Linked DNA regions of Homo sapiens: region 2 is linked to region 1. Evidence: promoter capture Hi-C in 16 types of primary human blood cells and fetal thymus (Javierre and others, 2016). All regions are on one chromosome and are shown on one strand. The core of a region is centred on a gene start or on the middle of the fragment in contact, and the rest is flanking DNA. Distances in the headings are between cores, read along the strand shown. Region 1 holds the start of DNALI1 (dynein axonemal light intermediate chain 1). Region 2 overlaps CDCA8 (cell division cycle associated 8).

Region 1 (5,164 bases), core at 959-3,458:
TCCACAGGGATCTTGGGAATGGGTAGGTGGTAGACAATTTCCACCTTGGCAACGGGCCTCTGTGAAATCATTCCCCACTGTTCCAGATCTTACCCTCCTAACATGCTGAAGACCGATTTATGGTTGTTGCTTGATGTGAACAGTAGGAACTACCCACCAACTTACGGGGTGGGAAACACAGGACATCATGAACCTTGTGCGAGCCAGAAAGAGGCAGATGTGTGTATCGGGGTGGAGAGGTTCATGAAGGTGTGTGCCTGCGTAGGCCCCCATTTCCCTTTTCCTCATAGCCTTACCAACTGTGCTGTCAACTTATTACATAAAAATAGATGAAAAGGCATGTCCTTTTATCAATGTGGCTGCAGAAGAAAAAAGCAAGAAAAGGAGATCATGTTGGGCAGGGGTGCTCTGCTATAGCAAATTCTCAAGGAAGGCCTGGAAGAAATGAAAGGAACCAGGAGAATATCAAGGGGAGAACATCTTTGGCAGTGAAAACACCAGCTGTCAGGGCCCTGTGGTAGGAGAGTGAATGAGGCATTTCAGAAATAGCAAGTGAGGTCCCTGTGGATTCAGCACAGTGAACAAGAAACAGAATAACAGGAGATAAGGTCAGGGATACATCGTAGGCCAGATCATGCCACATCTTCCAGGCCATTGTAAGGATTTTTGATTTTAGTCTGAGATGGGAAGCCACAAAAGAGTTTCTGGCAGAGACTGGCATGATCTGACTTATGACTTAGGGGCTGTATGGAGGATAGATTCTAGGAGCAGAGTGGAAGCAGTGTTTTCAGATAGGAGGCCACTGCAGCAGTGCGAGTGGCCACCAGTGACTAGGAGCAAGATGGTGGAAGCAGAGGTGGTGAAAAGTGGTTGGATTTGGGAAAGAATTTGAAGGTGGAGCCAAAAGAATGTGACGAAGGATAGGACACATGCTGTGAGAGTGATCAAAAGGAATGAAAGGTGGTTTGAGTCCCTAGTAAAAAGGAGAATACGGGGGATGAGCAGATTGGGGAAGGAAGAAATTGTGATTTAGTTTGAATATATTGAGTTTGAGATGTCTATTAGATATCTTCATGAAGATAATGAGGAAGCAGAAGACTATATGGTCCTGGAGTTTAGTGGAGAAGACAGGGCTGGAAATACACATTTGGGAGCCATCAGCACATAGGTGGTATCTAAAGCCATGAGATTGGGTGACAGCATGCAGGAAATGAGGGTAGATTGAGAAGAGGTCTCCCACCACCCTGCCAGGATCCAGCCATATGTAAGTTCTAGGAGCTCTGTGATACTGGGAGGAAACCCCAGCCAGGAACAGAGGCAGAGTGCCTCCCCCCACACTCCCAAAATCCACGATGTAAAAGCTTAGGCCTTCTCCCAGCCACTGCTCCTACTTTCTTACCTTGGGGGTAGTATGGCATTCAAGATTTCTTCTGCCTGCTTTGTAGGATCTGGGACACAGGGAGTTGAGGGGAGCTTGGTCTTGGGTGGCTGTGGGGCTGAACCTGAAGGTCCAGGCTGCTGGGGGCTGACTTTCAGTAGCCGAGCCTGAGATGAAGGCACAGGTGAGGGCAGGAAATTGTTCAGGAGCTCAGCTCCACACATCCCCAACCTGTATATTGCTCCAGGTCTTCTGCACAGCCCTCCCCTCTTCCTAGCCTACTTTGGGTCGGTCTTCTCAGCAGAAATTATGTCACAGAGCTGAAGGAGGCCATGAAGTCTGGCCCCAACTCAATGCTTGAACAGGTGTTTCTGGCGCATGTGCTTTCACACCTCTGGTGATGGGGAAATCACTACCTAGTCATCTGTTCTTGGACCCGCGTACCATTAAGAAGAGTGAGCCCCATCCATCTCCCTGTGACCTCCTTCCCCATCCTAAATCTGCCCTCTGGGGTCACACCCAACATCTGGGCTTCCTATACAATCCTCTCACCCTCCTTCTCTGACTTCCCAATTCCCTTTACTCCCAGTCGCTGCAATCCCCGTCCCTTGAGATTCCTGACCCTCCATGCGGGAATGTGTCTTTCCCTATCGGAGTTTCGAGGCTCCTTTGTCTCCCGAGCCCCCGTCTTTACCTTGGGGCTCCGTTTCTCCGTGTTCCGGCTCACCAGCACTGGGGTGTCGTACTTGAGCAAAGAGTCTGCGGGCGGAATCATGGCGGAGGCGAGAGTAGCAACCCAGCAGCTGCCCTGTCCAGTGTGGGCCTTGTTTGCCGTCACCATGGAAACCGCCCCCTCACTCCCGCCCCCGCGCTTCTTGGCCTGGGCGGAGCTTCGAAGTGGGGCGGGGCCAACAGCCGGCAAGTTTCATTCTGTGCCTCCTGGGCAGAAACCTCTTGTGCCTGACTTCTTAGGCCTTCTGCTCACCGGTTCGTCCCTGTACTCTTGGAGGCGAGGAAAACGGCAGTTCGAGTCCCTATGCTCCGTCTAGCTAGCGATTTGAAGTGGGCAGATCACCTTTGCCATGCTCCAATTTTGTCACCTGAAAAACAGGAGTCATCTCCTGACTTCTCATGAAGGGTTAAGGGACAATTCCCAAAGGAAGTCATCTGGAGTTCCTAGGTTTTTTGAAGGTTTTTTTTGTTGTTGTAGTTGTTCCCAAAATGTGTTCATTGAGATTGTTTCCCACTCATCTTGATTCAGAGTGCTTTTAGTGCTGCTTCCTCCTGAAGGAACATCCTTCTGTAAGCCTTACTTTTCCTCCTGTAGGCTGGCAGAGGACAGTGGAGCAGCCAACACACAAAACTGCCGTTTGTGCATGGCTAAAGACTGTGGTGATTTTATAGCATCCTGGGCATTTCACATCCATGAAGTAGGAATTGGGGCTCTGCACCAGGCGTTTCTTCTTGTGTTTCCTCTTCTCCTCTTCTGGGGAGGGATGAAGGAGATCCTTTGCGAGAGGCATGTTCTCGTGGGTAGGTCGTCACCGCAAGAAAGGGCTTGTTTTGATTTTTAAATTGAGACGGAGTCTCTCTCTGTTGCCCAGGCTGAAGTGCAGTGGCGTGATCTCGGCTCACTGCAACCTCCGCCTCCCGGGTTCAAACGATTCTCCTGCTTCAGCCTTCTGAGTAGCTGGGACTACAGGCGCGTGCCCCCATGCCCGGCTAAATTTTGTATTTTTAGTAGAGACGGGGTTTCACCACGTTGGCCAGGCTGGTCTCGAACTCCTGACCTCGTGGTCCGCCTGCCTCGGCCTCCCAAAGTGCTGGGATTACAGGCGTGAGCCACCGCGCCCAGCCTGAAGTATTTTTCTAATTAAATGGAGAAATGACAAAGTAGGAGCCAATGGGAAACCTCCCCTTTGCCCCCTGAAGATTCGCTCAAAAATCAATTCACAAAAGGCAGATTAATTGGAGAAAAGGCATACAAATGTATTTAAAATGTATACACGGGGAGAATCACAGTATGATTACCCACCCCGAAAAGGGTTCAGAAGCTTATATACCCTCCTGGTAAAACAGGTTTGTGAGGGTGGGAGAAGGAGGAATTCTGTTCAGGGATTACTAGGCAGAATGAATGAATAAGGGAACAGAGATAAATTTGTAAATAGTTTTTTGTGTTTTTTTTTTTGTTTTGGTTTGGTTTTTTTGAAGACAGGGTCTCACTCTGTAGCCCTGGCTGGAGTGCAGTGGTGCCATCACGGCTCACTGCAGCCTCCAACTCCTGGGCTCAAGCGATCCTCCTGTCTCTGCTGGGACCACAGGCACGAGCCACTAGCCCCTGCCAAATTTAATTTTTTTGTAGAGACAGTCTTGCTATGTTAGGCAGTTTGGTCTCAAACTCCTGGCTTCAAGCGATTTTCCTGCCTTGGCCTCCCAAAGCGCCGGAATTACAGGCTGCAGCCACCGTGCTCGGCTGTAAATAGCTACTTTTGACAGTATAAGGGTCTCTGGTCAGGTGTGATTACATTCTTGGGTGGAGAAGAAAGAAACAATTATTCCTTTTGGTAGTCTGGATCTTAGGCAGATAAAGACCTGTGCTTTGGGAGAGATGATGGGCACTGGAAAGGAACATTGAGGCTTCTTCAGTTCAGCTTGTCAGTGAGCCGTATTTTGGGGTTTTGGTTTCTGAGCCCCAACAGCATTGCAGAAAGTTCAGGAAATAGAAGAGGAAAAGCTAATGATTTGAAAAGCTAATGATTTGCCCATGGGTTATCATCTCTGATTGCATTTCCATTTCTTCCTCCCTTCTATTTCCAAATGTAAATGTAATTATAGTTTGCACACAATTTTGTATCCTGCTTTATCGTTAACAAGTCAGGGTTTTTAAAGTTTGTAAATGGTTTACTAATGGCCACATAACACCCATTAATTTGGCTAACTTCCCTACTGCTGGTATTTACATTGTTTCCACGTTTTGTAATTACTAATAATGTGGCAACAAACAGCCTTGAGAGGTTTGCTTTTTCCCAGTTTTTGTTGTTGTTTGTTTTTGAGACATCTCGCTCTGTTGCCCAGGCTGGAGTGCAGTGGTGAGATCCCTGCTCACTGCAACCTGCGCCTCCAGTTCAAGTGATTCATTTGCCTCAGCCTCCCGAGTAACTGGGATTGCAGGTGCGCGCCACCACACCCGGCTAATTTTTGTATTTTTAGTAGAGACGGGGTTTTGCCATGTTGGCCAGGCTGTTCTCTAACTCCTGACCTCAGTGATCCGTCAGCCTCGGCCTCCCAAAGTTCTGGGATTACAGGCGTGAGCCACCACTCCCAGCCAGAAGTTTGTTTTTGAAACTTGAAACTCCCGCCACCCAAGCCTGTCGCTGCGGCCACACCCACTAGGGAGTAGTCACGTGTTTAACCTTTGCCGCGAGGATTTCTGGGAGCCTGGGCACCCCGGAAGCGGAAGTCCAGGAGTTAAACTCGTCATTTCCTCCAGCTAGAGGAGCTCAACTGATCTGTTTTCTTTCGCCCAGCCAAAATCACAGAATGAAGGCGGTGAAGAGCGAACGGGAGCGAGGGAGCCGGCGAAGACACCGGGACGGGGACGTGGTGCTGCCGGCGGGGGTGGTGGTGAAGCAGGAGCGTCTCAGCCCAGAAGTCGCACCTCCCGCCCACCGCCGTCCGGACCACTCCGGTGGTAGCCCGTCTCCGCCGACCAGCGAGCCGGCCCGCTCGGGCCACCGCGGGAACCGAGCCCGAGGAGTTAGCCGGTAAGTGGGGGAGCAGTCCAGG
Region 2 (5,164 bases), core at 1,285-3,784, 140 kb before region 1:
AAACATTTCAAGAAACCAATTATAGGTAAGTGACAGCCACTCTATGACGAGCTATGGGGTAGCTCTACATATGGACTATCAGGAACTGAAACATAACAGGCAGTTCTTGCTATACTTAAAAAAAAAAAGTGGGGGCTGAGGTGGGTGGATCACCTGAGGTCGGGGGTTCAAGACCAGCCTGACCAACATGGAGAAACCCCGCATCTACTAAAAATACAAAATTAGCCGGCATGGTGGCACATGCCTATAATCCCAGCTACTCGGGAGGCTGAGGCAGGAGAATCATTTGAACCCGCGAGGCAGAAGTTGCAGTGAGCCAAGATTGCACCATTGCACTCCAGCCTGGCCAACGAGATTGAAACTCCGTCTCAAAAAAAAAAAAAAAAAAAAGTGGGGAAGGATAGAGAATGTACATTAAAGTACTGGAGATGGTTTTGGTTTAGGTCATTTCTAGAGACCCCTCCAGCTTGGATACTCAAGGATTCAGTGATTTTAAGCTGCTTTCAAACACTAGCCACCAGAGCCTTTTCACTGCCCCTCACTTTCTGCCATGATATATATGGCTCTCCAATAAAACCCAAAACACCACAACTTTAGAAAATCCACTACCTTTTCCCTTTTCCTTTTCCTTGTATGGACTGAGTTCTCTTCTTGGATGGAGGACACCTTTTGACCTGCAGTCACAATCAAATGAGACTAAGGTTACAAAAAACCCAGCAAAGAGGAAGGTAAGGAGGGTTTTTTTTTTTTTTTTAAAGCATTAAGAACAAGCTTTGGATAGTTAATACTAAATATAATAAGGTGTATCTCAGAATTCAATGACTTAAAAAGTTCAGAACATAACTAATTGAATAAGGACTTCCACTGGCTGGGTTTTCAAAATAGAGGATTTTGACCAAGATTAAAGGTAAATCTCTTTTGAACTGATTGCAGCCTGGCTTGTACCCCACTACTTTACATAAAGGGCTGCTGTGAAGGTCACTCAGGGCGTCCCAGGTGCCCAATCAAAGGCAAACCCTGCAGTGCTCCCTTCCTGGGGCCTGGGAGGTCCCTGGCAAGAATCACTCCTTATCTTCCATATATTCTCTCCTCCCTTGTCCTCCGTGATGGATCTGTCTTTCCTGCTTCTCTAACTTCCTTGGCAGTCTGCCTTAGGAGCTCCTCTCTCTACCCTCCCTCTAGTGTCCACCCTGACTCCCTCCCTTCCTGCTCTCCCTGCACAACCATCTCCACTCCCACACTGGGACAAACACCTAAAGATCTGGGAGGCAGTGTATCTCTCAAATCTCCCTCTTCTCCCTGAGCTCCAGGCTGAAATTTCTGTCTAGCCTAGATGTCCTGGAAAAGTAATGAATGGTCAACATGTCATGCAATTGGCATGTGCTCCACCACCCCCAGTCCAGCACCCTCTGCCACCTGGGTCCCACACCTCACTGGATAGCATTTGCCTTAGCTAGAAACCATGCAGTTGTCTCTGATTCCTCCTTTTCTCCACCAACCATGCCACTTCTTTCTAAAACCTATCTAAAAACCATCCCTTCATTCTATAGTGTCAGCATGTCAGTTCAAGAATTCATAGGCTTCTAACTGGTTTCCTCATCTTCAGTTTTCCGCCTCCCCCATCTATCCTGAATACTGTTCCTCTTCCCTTTCTTCTCTAGCTAGTAGACTCTCACTCACCTTGAAAGGCCTGTCTATGTCCTAGTGGGGTAGGGGAGGCTTGCTAGCTTCCTCTTCTGTGTTCTACACACTTTGCACACCAGTCAATTATCTCTTTTGTCATTGCCATGTAAAGTAGGATCATCTCTACTAAACTGTGAGCTCTGGTGTACAACAGTGTATTTTATGCATTTGTATTTGCTTGTCTTGTGATAACCCCCAGCCTCCAACCTCAGTGTCCACTTACTCTTGCAGTTTGAAGATTCTTACGTTCATTTTCTTCTTCTTCTTCCTCTTCCACTATCATTTCATCTACCTGTATTACCTTTCGTGCTGTAAGAAACAGTTTCAACAGGGTGGTATTTCTGATGAAAATAAAGTTTTGTGCATTCACATTTCTTATAGGAATAAAATGTACACAATCTTAAGCTGCAAGGAAGAAATGGACTAAAAATAAAGAAGACTTTTTAAGAAAGAGGGTTTAGACAAAGGAAACTAACCAGAGTGTTAAGAGACCCCATATGATGCTTTGTAGGGACAGCCCAGCATTCTGAATAATTGAGCTTGCCCTGCCTACTGTAGAGCGTGCCCTGGTGTGTAGCCCCGAAATCCTGGCCATGGGTCAGGATGTTCTTATAAGAATTGGATGCATCAAACTATCATAGCTTAATGACAGTGACATTAAGTCCATGTCACAATTCATCCTGATCCGATTCCTTGCTCACTAGTCAAAACCTGGTTTCCCATACAACTTTTCCTATAAGACAGTGTTTCTCAGAGTGCGGGACATGTATGTAAGATGATTTTATGTGGATAGATCATGGAATTGAGTAACTTTTTTTTTTTTTTGAGACAGAGTCTCGCTCTATCGCCCAGGCTAGAGTGCAGTGGCATGATCTCAGCTCACTGCCAGCTCCACCTCCCGGGTTCACGCCATTCTCCTGTCTCAGCCTCCCAAGTAGCTGGGACTACAGGCGCCCGCCACCACGCCCGGCTAATTTTTTGTATTTTTTAGTAGAGACGGGGGTTCACCGTATTAGCCAGGATGGTCTCGAACTCCTGACCTCGTGATCCACCCACCTCGGCCTCCCAAAGTGCTTGGATTACAGGCGTGAGCCACCACGCCTAGCTGAGTAACTTTTTTTTTCCTTTCCTTTCCTTTCCTTTCCTTTCCTTTCCTTTCTTTCTTTCTTTTTTTTTTCAGAGACAAGGTCTCACTACATTGCCCAGGCTGGTCTTGAACTCCTGGGCTCAAGTAATCCTCACAGCTTGGCCTCCCAAAGTGCTGGGATTACAGGCGTGAGCTACCGCACCTGGCCTGAATTGAGTAATTTTGAATTATATGCAGAGAAAGTCATTCCTTTTTCAATTCGCTTTCAACTTTGTTGATTACATCAGGGAGCGTCTCAGTTGGTGTTACCAGTCTTTTAACACCTCTCTAAATCTTGTCATCTATTTAACCCAGGAGAAAGTAAGCAGGCAACAATGTTTGGTTTCTAGCACAGCTTTTTTCCCCCCTTTTTTCACTTTCATTTTAGCTCGCACACGGGTCTTGAGTTTGGTTTTTAGCAGTCCTGCCTAAAATTAACTAAATTTCTGGTTTGAATTGCTGTTCGGGGGAAAAAAAATTAACTAAATGCACCATCCAAAAGCAAGTTTTTGGATTTACAAGATTAAGAACCAGACATTAAAGGGAAGAGGCTCTACCAACAAGGCGCTGCCTGAGCAGCCAACCAAGCAACCTGAGCCTCAGTTCTTTCTGTACAACAAGGAGTTTTGAAAGGTACTCACTTTTGGCAGATTTCAGGGGTGTCTGAATAGCTTCTGCTGTTAGTTTGTTTATTTCGGTGATATCCAGGTCAGCCTATGACAAACATAGCCAGAAAGCACCAGGCTTATTCCACCAAAATATGAGGAACAATATTTCAAGATAAAAACTTTTTTAAAACTATTATTTAATACATAAGACTGTTAAATGTTAGTGATACAATATACAATATAGCAAACTCCCATAAACCCACCACACAGCCCAAGACCTAAAACATTGCCAATAACTTGCTTCTGGCTCTGTATTCATTCCTTGTTCCATTTTCTTATCTCTTCTTCCAAAGGTGATGAGTCTCCTAATCCTTCATTCCCCAGGGGTAACCATATCATTGCACTTGCTTTATCGAAAGGTACATGTGTATGTGCTCACAGATACATGCATATGTGTGTATACATGTGTGCACACACAGATGTGCTTTTTCACAAGTGTGTACTTAAGCATTTTGTTTGGTTTTGGCTGTTTTCACCACTCTTTGTGGTTGTAGTTAATTTGTTTTCATTGCTATATCATATCCCACTGTGTGAATATACCACAATGGATTTGTCCATCTTCCATCAATAGTTTCCTGCTATTATAAACACTGCTACCTTGAACTGTCTTACATGTGTCTGAGGTACATGTCCAAGTTTCCCCTTGGCTCTATCCTTTGGATAGGACATGACAGGGATTATAGGTTACATAAATATTCAGCCTTCGCATTATGCCAAATTGTTTCCCAAAGTGGTTACCCTTGACTACAGCCCATCTGCAAACAATACAAGTTCCTAATGATCTACATCCTCTACAACACTTGGTGGTGTGTCAAGCTTACCATTTTTTCGATAAATCTACAGGGTCTCAATAAGGTTTTCTATGATGATCCTGGGTCCTTCAAAAAGGCTTCCAGTCACCATTCAAATTCGTTTTTTTTTCATATGGTAATAAGTATGGGCACTACAAAGAGCAGTCATGATTCACAGTCCTTTCCTTATAGAACACATGTAAACATCAGAATAATTACTACAGGTTTGGAATGGCACAGGTTTCATTTCTGGTAGGGACTGCTTGACATACTCAGAGAAGGATTCTGAGGCTGTCTTAGGCTTAGCAAGAAATAGGGCTGTAATAAGTTACTGATGTTTGCCAGGCTTGATGCAACAGAAAGTAGGGGCATTCCTGCCAACCTTCTGCCATCTCTAGAAACAACTGGCATTTTATGGAGTCATCAGTGGTGGCAGGCCACTGGGCATCTACTGTGCAGGACAGTTAACAGAGCAGGCCTGAGACTGATACACATAGAAAGGCCTGTTTGCAAGCCTGGCCTCGGTTGGCATCTGGGAACTTGATTTCAGAAAGATTCCCACCTTTCCTTAACAAGATGCCTCACTGTGCCTAAACTTTATGCAAACAATATGGCTCATGCTGAACACCTACTTCCCTCCTGAAAGTCTAGGATTTTGACATGTGCTAGGCAGAGGATGCCTATGTGAGCAGCCCCCAGTTAAAACTCTGGGCATTGACTCTCTAATCAGATTTTCTGGTAGACAGCATTTCATATGTGTTGAATTAAGCATGTTCTGTTTGACTCTACAGGGAGTGGACTCCTAGAAGCCTGGTTTCCTCTGGACTTTGTCCTATGCAATTTTCTCCTTTGTTGATTAATGCTTTGTATACTTTCACTGTAATAAATCATCGCCA

The links. The method cuts DNA at HindIII sites, captures the fragments that hold promoters and counts their contacts. A CHiCAGO score of 5 or more calls a contact.
Region 2: a contact is called between a fragment that was not itself captured here and the fragment with the promoter of DNALI1 in region 1, in 2 of 17 cell types (fetal thymus and monocytes). The highest score is 5.6, in fetal thymus.

What each region holds. Positions count from the first base shown.
Region 1 is chr1:37,553,984-37,559,147 of GRCh38, reverse strand. It overlaps DNALI1 (dynein axonemal light intermediate chain 1), which reads right to left and starts at 2,208. Exons shown (of 6, transcript NM_003462.5): 1 at 2,073-2,208; 2 at 1,400-1,545. The coding sequence starts at 2,153. SNIP1 (Smad nuclear interacting protein 1) reads left to right here and starts at 4,855. Exons shown (of 4, transcript NM_024700.4): 1 at 4,855-5,142. The coding sequence starts at 4,919. It also overlaps the pseudogene RPS27P9. RefSeq lists enhancers at 2,126-2,420, 2,631-3,601 and a silencer at 5,073-5,132. The HindIII fragment of the contact is 2,071 bases long and covers 1,364-3,434 here.
Region 2 is chr1:37,697,264-37,702,427 of GRCh38, reverse strand. It overlaps CDCA8 (cell division cycle associated 8), which reads right to left. Exons shown (of 10, transcript NM_001256875.2): 4 at 3,451-3,523; 5 at 1,907-1,992; 6 at 610-674. Among named protein-coding and RNA genes, the nearest start is that of CDCA8, 7.3 kb to the right of the region's middle. The HindIII fragment of the contact is 3,522 bases long and covers 774-4,295 here.